Regions from separate parts of the Homo sapiens genome. Here all the other regions are linked to region 3. Evidence: promoter capture Hi-C in human tissues and cell types (Jung and others, 2019). All regions are on one chromosome and are shown on one strand. The core of a region is centred on a gene start or on the middle of the fragment in contact, and the rest is flanking DNA. Distances in the headings are between cores, read along the strand shown.

Evidence for each region. The method cuts DNA at HindIII sites, captures the fragments that hold promoters and counts their contacts. A contact is called where the count stands out against the background at its distance.
Region 1: a fragment that was not itself captured here is called in contact with the fragment with the promoter of NXNL2 in region 3 in 5 of the 25 tissues and cell types used here (IMR-90 fibroblasts, lymphoblastoid cells, mesendoderm cells and 2 more).
Region 2: a fragment that was not itself captured here is called in contact with the fragment with the promoter of NXNL2 in region 3 in 1 of the 25 tissues and cell types used here (lymphoblastoid cells).

Annotation. Positions count from the first base shown.
Region 1 is chr9:88,398,500-88,402,244 of GRCh38, reverse strand. The region is part of intron 1 of SPIN1 (spindlin 1); the gene reads right to left. Among named protein-coding and RNA genes, the nearest start is that of SPIN1, 12 kb to the right of the region's middle. The HindIII fragment of the contact is 9,312 bases long and covers 1-3,745 here.
Region 2 is chr9:88,322,321-88,326,417 of GRCh38, reverse strand. It overlaps the pseudogene RPSAP49. Among named protein-coding and RNA genes, the nearest start is that of SPIN1, 64 kb to the left of the region's middle. The HindIII fragment of the contact is 4,785 bases long and covers 408-4,097 here.
Region 3 is chr9:88,533,190-88,536,870 of GRCh38, reverse strand. It overlaps NXNL2 (nucleoredoxin like 2), which reads right to left and starts at 1,693. Exons shown (of 2, transcript NM_001161625.2): 1 at 1,135-1,693. The coding sequence starts at 1,436. LOC105376134 (a long non-coding RNA gene) reads left to right here and starts at 2,331. Exons shown (of 2, transcript XR_007061653.1): 1 at 2,331-2,857. RefSeq lists enhancers at 239-1,072, 1,073-1,907. The HindIII fragment of the contact is 10,556 bases long and covers 1-3,681 here.

The DNA.
Region 1 (3,745 bases), core at 612-3,111, 130 kb after region 3:
GAGGCAGGCGGATCACCTGAGGTCAGGGGACCCAGACCAGAATGGCCAACATGGTGAAACCCTGTCTCTACTAAAATTACAAAAATTAGCCCAGCATGGTGGCACACACCTGTAATCCCAGCTTACTCAGGAGGCTGAGGCGGGAGAATTGCTTGAACCCAGGAGGCAAGAGGTTCCAGCAAGCCAAGATCGCACCGCCGCACTCCAGCCTGAGCAACAGAGCGAGACTCCATCTCAAAAACAAAAAGATAAAATACTCAAGGTGATGGATGCTCCAGGTACCCTGACTTGATCATTATACATTCTATGCATGCAACAAGTATTCATATGCATCCCATAAAGATGTAAAATATTATGTATTAATAAAAGGAAAAGATTGTTAGGAATTTAGCAAAGTATTTTTAGGCAAAGGCTTAAAACAGACACATAACATCTCAACATAAGCAAGAACATACAGTTCCACAACTTGCTTCTCTTATTAAATGTTACATTTTTTGTGTAATATAGTTGGCCCTTGGCCTCTTATCCCTTCAGCTCCACATCTGTGGATTCAACTAACCTCAGATTTTCAACATTTGGGAAATGATGGTTTCATCTGTACCAAACACATAAAGTTTTTTCCTTGTAGTTATTCCCTCAACAATACAGTATAACTATTTGTATAGCATTTACACTGTATTACATACTAGGAGTAATTTAGAGATTAAAGTATACAGAAAGATATGCATAGATTATATGCAAATACTACACCATTTTATATAAGAAACTTGAGCATCCATGGATTTTGGTATCCATGGGGTGGGGTGCAGGCGGGGAGGCAGGCGGAGTGTGGGTCCTGGAACCAATTCCCTGATATGGAGGGATGGCTGTATGAATTTTTTTTCCTATCAACCTCTTATTATTAACAGTGGCACAATATTCCAGTGTATGGGTATAATGGTCATTTACTCTACCTTAACTCCATTATTGGACAGTTGTTTCTAATTTTTCTCGATCACAAACACTGATATAATGAAAAACCTTAAACATAACGTATTTGTATACTGTCCAAATTCATCTATACAATAAAATCCTAGCAGTGAAACTGCTGGATCAACAGAGCACATGCATTTTAAATTCTGTTTTAGTGCAGCCATCCTCCAAAAAGGTCCTAGCAAAGTACAGTTCCACCAACAATGCAAGTTATTTAAGGGCTATGCATTTAGGTGAACCTTTCCTTATGAACTAATATTTTATTAGAATCTCACTCTGTTGCCCAGGCTGGAGCGCAGTTGCACGATCATGGCTCACCGCAGCCTCGACTTCCCCAGCTCAACTGATCCTCCCACCTCAGCCTCCCGAGTAACTAAAACTACAGGCACAAGCCACCACACCCGGCTAATTTTTTTTTTTTTTTTTTTGAGGCGGAGTCTCGCTCTGTCACCCCAGCTAGAGTGCAGTGGCATGATCTTGGCTCACTGCAACCTCTGCCTCCTGGGCTCAAGCGATTCTCCTGCCTCAGCCTGCCGAGTAGCTGGGATTAAGGCATGGGCCATGATATCCGCTTAATTTTTGTATTTTTAGTAGAGATGAGGTATCGCCATGTTGGCCAGGCTGGTCTCAAACTCCTTACCTCAGGTGATCCTCCTGCCTTGGCCTCCCAAAGTGCTGGGATTACAGGTATTAGCCATCACGCCAGGCCAAATATAGACTCTCATAGAAGGTGAGTGAATGGTCAGTGGAGTTCCTTGTTAGGCCAGAAAAAATCTAACCGAGGCATCAGGCCTTGTGGATGGGCCTCAGTCAATTAACCCAACTGTTAAGAGTCCTTTCTATCTCCTTGAACTATAACACTGAACCCAGAATCTCTGCTTAGTGAGCCCACATCAATAAATTCTGCCTGATTCAACTTTATGTTCCTTCCACTGTTATACTATACCCCTAAGATCCATTGCCACAAATCAAATACTCCTCCAGGCTCCTGACTATACAGTGGCAAAACTATACAATCTTTTAGAGTGCAGCATACCTTTCTCATGGGTCACCTCACTCTCTGGGGCCTGCTGCAACTACAGTCCAGCCACAGATCTACAAGAAAGAAGGATTACAGGGCAGATTCTGAGGAAGACAGTACCGTGCTGGGCAACTACCCAAAGGGAGGCCAATTACAGGTTTTTCAGGCAAACGGAGATTAAGTTCCTCTGGGAAGGGTTGGAAAGGCTGCTTCTCCGGGAAAGGCAGCAGAGCAGCATTTAAGGATTTAAGGACTCCAGCTTAAACAGAATCTGACCATATGCCTCCAATCCAATTTTCAGGATTCCATTCCTACCAATCAATGATCTCACCCACAAATTAGGAATTACATTTGCATTTTTAGAGCAGTCACAGAAACCTTCGGGTCCCTTACGTGTAGCCTGAGCTAAAAATTTAAAAGCCTGAGCTGATCATTCTGCTTTGTATGGTTTGAACTTGGCTGAGCTGAACTACATTCCCCAGAATTTCCTTTCCTTTATGTTTCCAACTTGCATGGCTCACAAGAGATTTTTGTGCAGCAACTGAAGGGTGCAGAAGATAAAGCAACCACCCTGCAGCTTGCACACACTGTTGCTGCTCATCTTCTGACTCACCCCATTCGTGTGAGGCAGTGGTTGGCCTAGAATTGCAGCTGCATCCACTCCACCTTCCTCTGGGCTCTCCTTAAGCTTCTCTGCCTCCTGGGCTACATTTGCCAAGGATCCAACTCTTACAGGCCACCCACACAAGCAGGAACAAAGGCAACTAGAACTAGCATGGTTTCCATGTACCTTGCCTGTGGCTTCCTGTGTCCTCTTCTTCCCCACTTTACATCCATCTTCCTTTCTCAAATGACTGCCCTGTGGACTTCAAACTCCAGCATCAATCACAAAGACAACAGCCTGACAGAAACCGCTTAACGGCTGGGCACGGTGGCTCACGCCTGTAATCCCAGCACTTTGGGAGGCCGAGGCGGGTGGATCACGAGGTCAGGAGTTCAAGACCAGCCTGGCCAACATGGTGAAACCCCGTCTCCACTAAAAATACAAAAAAACTAGCCAGGCATGGTGGCGCACGCCTGTAGTCCCAGCTACTCGGGAGGCTGAGGCAGGAGAATCGCTTGAACCCAGGAGGCGGAGGTTGCAGTGAGCCAAGATTGTGCCACTGCACTCCAGCCTGGGCAATAGAGCAAGACTCCATCTCAAAAAAAAAAAAAACTGCTTAAGCCAGCTCCTCCTACACTGTGTGAACTCAAATCACTGTAACAAATGCCTTAATACATACACACACATATCCCATATACGTTTTCCTTTATCCATCCTAGGGGTTTCATTTTTCTAAACCTTATGTGATCCTGAAAAAAATATTACAATTAAAAGTCAACAAGGCCGGGCACGGTGGCTCACGCCTGTAATCCCAGGGAGGCCAAGGCAGGCGGATGACCTGAGGTGGGGAGTTCAAGACCAGCCTGACCAACATGGAGAAACCCGTTTCTACTGAAAATACAAAATTAGCTGGGTGTGGTGGTGCATGCCTGTAATCCCAGCTACTCAGGAGGCTGAGGCAGGAGAATTGCTTGATCCCACGAGGCGGAGGTTGCGATGAGCCAACATCGCGCCATTGCACTCCAGCCTGGGCAACAAGAGCGAAACTCTGTCTCAAAATAAATAAATAAAAGTCAACAAATTGTTACTTAATAATCACTGTATGACAAACACCTGTGCAGACAAGACATTTAACCAACCAGACACCC
Region 2 (4,097 bases), core at 1,551-4,050, 210 kb after region 3:
ATTGCCTACATCTTATGTGCTTAGTGTAGTGTCTTTCTAGGGAAGCACTTCCCAGTCTTGTCGCATGACGGTGCACAGTGGACGTGGCACCGCATGGTGTGGCACACAGGAATCAGTGGACGGAGGAGCTGCTCCCAGCAGGAGGGGCCGATCCCTGGCTGTTCCAGCTGCTCCTGGCCCTGCTCAGACATCCTGAGGACTGAGACTCTAAACCCGGCAGGTCTGCATTCATCTCACAGCACACGAAGAGCTCCAAGTCGGTAAGCTCTGCCCCCAGGGAATGAACCTGACAGGAAAATTACTGAGCCTAGGGACAGTCAGCTCCATGAATTATCATCAAGATGTTCTTCAAAGTGGTTGTAGTAATTCATACTCTCAATGCCTCTTTCATTCTTTTTTGTTTGTTTGTTTGAAACAAGGGATTCGCTATGTTGGCCAAGCTGGCCTCAAACTCCTGTCCTCAAGTGATCCTCCCATCTTGGTCTCTTAAGTAGCTGGGATTACAGTTGTGAGCCACCATGCCTGGTCCAATGCCTCTTTCAATCTGAAGATTGTGTCTTTCTTCATTAGCTTTCTTCAGAAAAGTTAATTATTTATTTTTAAATTTTCTTTCCTTTTCTTTCTTTCTTTTTTTTTTTTTTTTGACAGAGTCTTACTCTTATCATCCAGTCTGGAGTGCTGTGGCACGAATTCGGTTCACTGCAATCTCCACCTCCCAGGTTCAAGCGATTCTCCTGCCTCAGCCTCCTGAGAAGCTGGGATTACAGGTGTGCACCACTAGGCTTGGCTAGTTTTTGTATTTTTAATAGAGACGGGGGTTTCACCATGTTGGCCAGTCCGGTCTCGAACTCCCGACCTCAGGTGATCTGCCTGCCTCAGCCTCCCAAAGTGCTGGGATTACAGGCTTGAGCCACTGAGCCGGGACTATTTATTTTATAATTTTCTATCCTTCATTTTATGTTCTGTTTCTTTCTTTCTGTCTCTCTTCTTTACTTTTTTTTTTTTTTTTTTGGAAACTGATGTTTATTTTCCATCAACTTTATTTCCATGTTGCTTAAGGGCCTGTGCAAGAAGTGCTTAAGACCAATCAGTGGTTGCTGCTACCCACTCAGTGGCCTGAGCAGTGGGAGCTGCAGACTAGACTTCCGTGGCAGGCTGAGCACTCCAGTCTTTAGTAGGGAACTGTGAATAGGCACAGAGGGCACCTGCATACCTTCAAACCAGTCTGCAATCTCAGGCTGAGTAGCAGTGAACTCAGGAGCTAGAGCAGTCCACTCACCCTGAAATTCCTCCTTGGTCACAGCCTTTTCAGCAGCAGCCTGCTCTTCTTTTTCAATCTCTTCAGGATCTCTGTAGAAGTAGAGATCAGGCATGACCTCCCACGGGTGTTCACAGGAAATGGTGCCACGCATGTGCAGAACTTCCCGAGCTGGCATCCACCATATCTGACCCACTGAGGGAGCTCCCTTGTTGTTGCATGGGATGGCAATGTCCACACAGTGCAGAGGAGAATCTGTGTTACACAGAGCGATGGTAGGTAGGTTAACATAAGATGCCTCCGTGAGAGGCTGGTGGTCAGCCCTGGGGTCGGTAACCACAAGAAGCCGTGGCTCCCGGAAGGTTGCCTGGATCTGGTTAGTGAAGGTTGCAGGAGTGAAGCGGCCAGCAATTGGAGTGGCTCCAGTGGCAGCAGCAAACTTCAGCACGGCCCTCTGGCCAGTATTCCTGGAGAATATGACACTGACATCAGCAGGGTATTCAATGGCAACAATGGCATGAGCTGCCAGCAGAAGCTTCTCCCAGGTCCTCTTCAGATTTGTGATGTAGGTGCCATAACTTTTCCTTTTATAGATGTACTGTTTCATCTGGAAGTCAAGATTGGTGCCACCTAAGTGGGTTCCTGCTGCAAGGAACTTAAGGACATCCTTCTTCTTCATTTGCAGGACATCAAGGGCTCCGCACATTGTGAAAGTTTTCCTTGAAGTTACGATGGGAATCCAGAACGCCGTATGGACCCCTCTGTGGGTAGCGCAGAAATAATTTTTGTATTTTCAGTAGAGACGGGGTTTCACCATGTTGGCCAGGCTGGTTGTGAACTCCTGACCTCGTGATCTGCCGTCCTCCGCCTCCCAAAGTGTTGGGATTACAGGCGTGAGCCACCACGCCCAGCCTCTTCTTTCCTTCTTTTCCTCTTTCTGGAATTCCTACTGGGTAGGTGTTGTACCTCTGTATTAATCATCTATATCTCTTATTGTTTCTGGCCTATTTTCTGTTTCCTGTTCTCTTTATTCTCTGTGACCTCCTAAACATTATTGTCCACCCATATTTATTATTTTACATTTTGTGAACCATAATTTTAATTTCCAGAGGCTTTTACTGTGGTTCTTCTCACAGGGCTTATTTTTCACTGTGTCATGTTCTTGTTTTATTGTTTTATGGATGGAATATTTTCTAAAATCTCTCTGGGGATGCTGATCAAAGAAGTTCTGTTCTTTCATGTTCTTTGTTTTATGTTCTTTTTTCTTTGTGAGACGGCGTCTCAGTGCAACCTCCACCTCATGGGTTCAAGCGATTCTCCTGCCTCAGCCTCCTGAGTAGCTGGGATTACAGGCGTCTGCCACCATGCCCAGCTAATTTTTGTATTTTTAGTAAAGACAGGATTTCACCACGTTGGCCAGGCTGGTCTCAATCTCCTGAACTCGTGATCTGCCCGCCTCGTCCTCCCAAAGTACTGGGATGACAGGCCTGAGCCACCGTGCCAGGCCTGTTTTATGTTCTTATGTTCTCTGAATTCTCTCTGTGTTCTTTGAGGTTAAACTTCTATCTTTGTCTTTCTCTCTCTTTTGGAATCCTCATTGCTTTCTTTCATACCACAGGTTTTCTCTAATTCTGCAGCGAGCCTCTGTTAAGCTTTTATATTTGAGAATGAGGGACTATAAAAGCTGACAGAAACTCTGGGACATGAACAGGGACTGCTGCCTTTAGATCACCCTTTGTGGGGAGGCCTTTACTCTGGTCATGCACACCAGCTGCTCAAGTCCCTCCAGACTGTGCACATGATTCTTTGCCTGGAGTCATTACCTGGCTGGATGTCCTCACAGTTCTGTGCATGGGGTGGGGTGGGGATGGGGGTGTTGACTGTTCTACACACAGGTCTTCAATCCTGATTGATTTTCAGCCCTACTGGACTCTCCTGCCTCTAACTGTGGAGCCCTGGCCCCATCCCAGACTCTACAGAGCACAGTAGTTTCTTCCATGGCTCCACCCTCCATCATCCCATCCCACCAGTAGCTGCTTGTCTAGCTGTGGCTTCCTCTGAGTTGTGGTTTCCTCTGCTATTTCCTCCAGCAACGTTCTTCACTCTGGGTTCAGTGTTGCGGAAATGGTCTGTCGTCTTCCCTCTGCAGATGTCATCATCAGCATTGTCCTCATTCTATTTGTGGGTTTTTTTTACACCTGTCCCATTCCTTCACTTGTGTGCTGTTGCTGGAACCTATGGGAGGCTCCTAGCCTATGACAAACCAGGCACAAAGGTCCAAAGAAACTACAGAGCTAAGTGCAGAAACAGAAAGATTCTGATACAAGTGTTCTGATGTAAACATTTAACATATTGAATTGTTTGGGGCATTTGATCCAACTGCAAACACGTACATCCATGATTTAGTTGCTAAGACACATTCTGGCCCTATGCAGAATCTGTAAATGCCTTTCCTCCAACTCTGTAAAATTGAATCTGTGGGCCTGGCACAGTGGCTCACGCCTGTAATCCCAGCACTTTGGGAGGCCGAGGCAGACCGATCACCTGAGGTCAGGAGTTTGAGACCAGCCTGACCAACATGGAGAAATCCCGTCTCTACTAAAAATACAAAAATTGGCTCACGCCTGTAATCCCAGCACTTTGCGGGGGCCAAGGCGGGTGGATCACGAGGTCAGGAGATCGAGACCATCCTGGCTAACACGGTGAAACCCCGTCTCTACTAAAAATACAAAAAAAAAAAAAAATTAGCCGGGTGTGGTGGCCGGTGCCTGTAGTCCCAGCTACTCAGGAGGCCGAGGCAGGAGAATGGTATGAACCCGGGAGGCAGAGCTTGCAGTGA
Region 3 (3,681 bases), core at 444-2,943:
TCAATAGAACTTTCAGAGTCCCGGTGTGAGTGAGGCTCCCAGAAGCAGGTTACCCCCCTGGAAGGCTGGGCGGTGCCCTGCCTGGGCCTCCTCTTTCACTGGGAATCACCAAAAATCATGTTTGGGGGAATAATTAGATTTCTTCCCATTAATTACTCATCTACAAAACTTTCCAAAGTTAGCTTCCAGTTTTCATTTTCCAGAAGGAATGTCATCTCATGATAATCAGTTTAGGGGGTAATGCCACAACTTAATGATAATCTCCAGAAATGTGAGGCTGTAAAGCAAAACCCAGAAATTCACATTGGTACCTAGAAGGGGGTGGCCAGGACAACATACTTGACGAGGCCTGCTTTAAACCTAAGTCTGGACTCTTACACCATAGGAGACCACAGGAGACCCACCCCAAAAGCAGAACAATCAATCCCTGTAATCCCCTCTCTGCCAATCCCTACCCCCTCCTTTGCAACAGTTAGAGTAATAAAGTTTATAGTAATGAGTTTTATGCTTCTCTAGTGATGAAATTCCATCAGTGTCGGTAAAAATGAAACCGCAAAGGTGGCCAGCACCTGGGTTCCTGCCAGCCTTGAAGCCCCCGTCCCTCCCTCCCAGCAAACCAACCACGGCCTGCACTGTGGGTGCCTGTCACAGAGCTGATGTCCTCGCGGGTCATCCCTCATCCCCGCATCCAGACACCGGGTCATGTCCCTGTGCTTCCTGCCCACTAACTGGGAGGATGACGCAGCGGCGCCGGGAGTCCAGGGCTGATTGGGCCGGCGGTTCCCGGAGCCGAGCCCGCGAACTCACAGCATCACCACCACTGGGAGCTCCTTCGCAATGCAGATTCCCGGAGCTCCAGACCCCAGGCAGAAACGCGCCCGCGTCCATGCTCCACGAGCCCCCTTGGGGTGCCGATGCCCTGGGTTTTCGAATCTGGTCTGCACCCTCCCTGGTCTCCAAGAGAGGTTGAAACTGAGACTGAGTGTGATTTACCGGAGTCCGGACGTGAACCGAGAGACGGGGAGGTGTTGGGGGGGGGCGTCATAAAGAGCTCCCCAGTGCAGAGGGGGAGGCCTGGGGGAACATGGGGGAGACGTGCCGGGCGGCCCCCGCCCCCCCAGGACCCCCACTCACTGCCGGTAGGGGTCGTGGAAGGGCAGCGCCAGCCAGGCGCCATGCAGCTCGCGCATGAAGTCCAGCATCTCCTGGGAGCTGCCGTCGGCTGACACGAAGACCACTTCGAAGGGCGCGGGCCGCCGCGCCTCGGCCACCAGCGCCGTATAGAAGTCGCAGAGCAGCGGCGTGAAGTCGCGGCTCGGCGCGCACCGGGCCGCCGCGAAGTACAGTGCCACCACCTTGTTCTGCAGCGCCGCCTCGGCCTCCACCGTCGCGCCCTTACAGGTCACCAGGTGCCGCTCGCCCAGAATGTCAACCATGGCGCAGACACGCAGCCACCTGAGACCCGAGGACACCTGCAGGAGGATGATCACCTGCGGGGAGGCGGCGGCGAGCGCCGCGGTGCCCCGCCTCTGTCCGCACCACCGGGCGCTGGACCTCTCAAGACCTGCCCCAGATGCGCCCACACCTTGGCCAGGCCTCGCCTGTGGCTGGAGCAATTGTGTTCGCGCCGACAATGAGACACTCAGACACCAGAGACCCCAGATACCTGGGCGACAGCGCGGCACCCGCCTCTGGGAGCGGGGCCAGCCAGGCAACCTCAAGCCCTCAGGTCTCTGCACCCTCCCCCAACTGCGCCCCGCCCACACTCCTGCGCCCTCCCACCACTGCGCCCCGCCCACATTCCCCGCAAGCTCCCCAACTGCGCCCCGCCCACATTCCGCACTCTCCACCCACTGCGCCCCGCCCACATCCCGCACTCTCCACCCACTGCGCCCCGCCCACATCCCCGCCCCCGCCCCCACTGCGCCTCGCCCGCATCCCCACACTGTCCCCCACTGCGCTGGGCCCACATCCCTACACTCTCCACCCACTGCGCCCCGCCCACATCTCCGCACCCTCCCCCACCGCACCCCGCCCACATCCCCGCACTCTCCTCCAACTGCGCCTCGCCCACATTCCACAGTTTCCCCTCACTGCGCCCCGCCCACATCCCCGCACTCTTCTCCAACTGCGCCTCGCCCACATTCCACAGTTTCCCCTCACTGCGCCCCGCGCACACTCCCGCTCCCTCCCCCACTGCGCCCCGCCCACACTCCCGCGCCCTCCCCCTCACTGCGGCCCGCCGACATCCCGCGCCCCCGCCCCCATCCCGACTGCGCCCCGCCCACCTCCCGCGCCCTCTCCCACTGGTTGTCCAGCCCACATCCTGCACTCCCTCCACTGCGCCCCGCTCACACTCCCGCACCCTCCCCACACTGCGCCCTGCCCACACTCCTGCACTCTCTCCCCACTACGCCCCCTACCACATCCCGCGCCCCCGCCCCCATCCCCACTGCGCCCCGCCCACACTCCCGCGCCCTCGCGCCCCTGGGCTCTCCCGTCGTGGGCACTCTCCCCAGCGCTTCTACACTTTCTCCCGACGCAGCGCCCTGCCCTCCGTCCCGCCCCACCTATTGCCTCCTGCGCTTCCCCCACACCGTGCTCTTCCTCCTCCTTCACTTCCTCCCACTCCTCGCGCTCCCCTTCAGCGCCCCACGCAGCCCCTCCCCCAAAACCCCGCGTCGCTCTCCTTCCCTCCTGGCCTCTCTTCCAGTCTCGCGCTCCCTGCCGGGCCCCGCCGCAGGTGTCCCGCAGCCGTCTCCCCAGGGCATTTGAATCTTGCCTTGGAGCTCTTGCCGCGCGGCCCAGCACCCTGGAAGAGGCATCAGGGAGGATGGGACGACGAGGAAGGGGAAGGGTAATTGGGCTTGGAGCGGGCTTGGGCGGGGTGGTAGGGAACCTGAGCTCCGTTGGTTCAGGGTGTTTGCCCCTGACATCCTGTGGCCTGGCTGGGAGGGTTCGTGAAGTTCAGGAAGAAATTGGGAGCAGTCCTTACAGAATGTTTTATTTGAAGAACCAAGAGTATTAATTTTTTGGCGAGCACTGTTGTAGGCCCTGGGAATTCAGCAGTGAGAAAAATAATTTCAACTCCCTGCCAGACCCGGGCTAGAAGGAGGCAAGCGAGCGAGGCACTCGCATAGGGGCAAAATTTAAGGGCGCGACAAAAAAACTCAGTAGTCAAGGTAAATAATGTTTTAATACAATATCTTAAAAAGTCAAAATGAATGCAAAAAAAGTTTATAATGAACAAAATATCAAAAACTTAAAGACAGTGAATGAAACCAAAATATGCCATCCTAAAATATGCCGCTTTGGTATATTGATTATTTTGAGCGAGAGGCACTTGAAAAATAGCAAATGCAGAGAGACGTTCTCCCCTTACCTGTCTAAAGACGGAACCTCCAAAAGAAACTGATTGTCGTAAATTCCCTCCCGGGAGGATGGACTCTTATCACAGCAGAAGTCCACACCACACCTAGACAAACTTTGTCACAAACTCATAAAGACTTATGCATCTTTCCTAAAAATCAGTTACTCTCCCCTAAGTGGCCTACACCAGCTTCCAGTTCCCCAATTTTAGAAGCTCTCAAAGCTCACTGGTTTGGGGGGTTTTCACCTAGTTTCCTGCAATGCCCCCATGCAGGTGATATTAAAGATTAATAAATGTGTATTCCCGTTCCC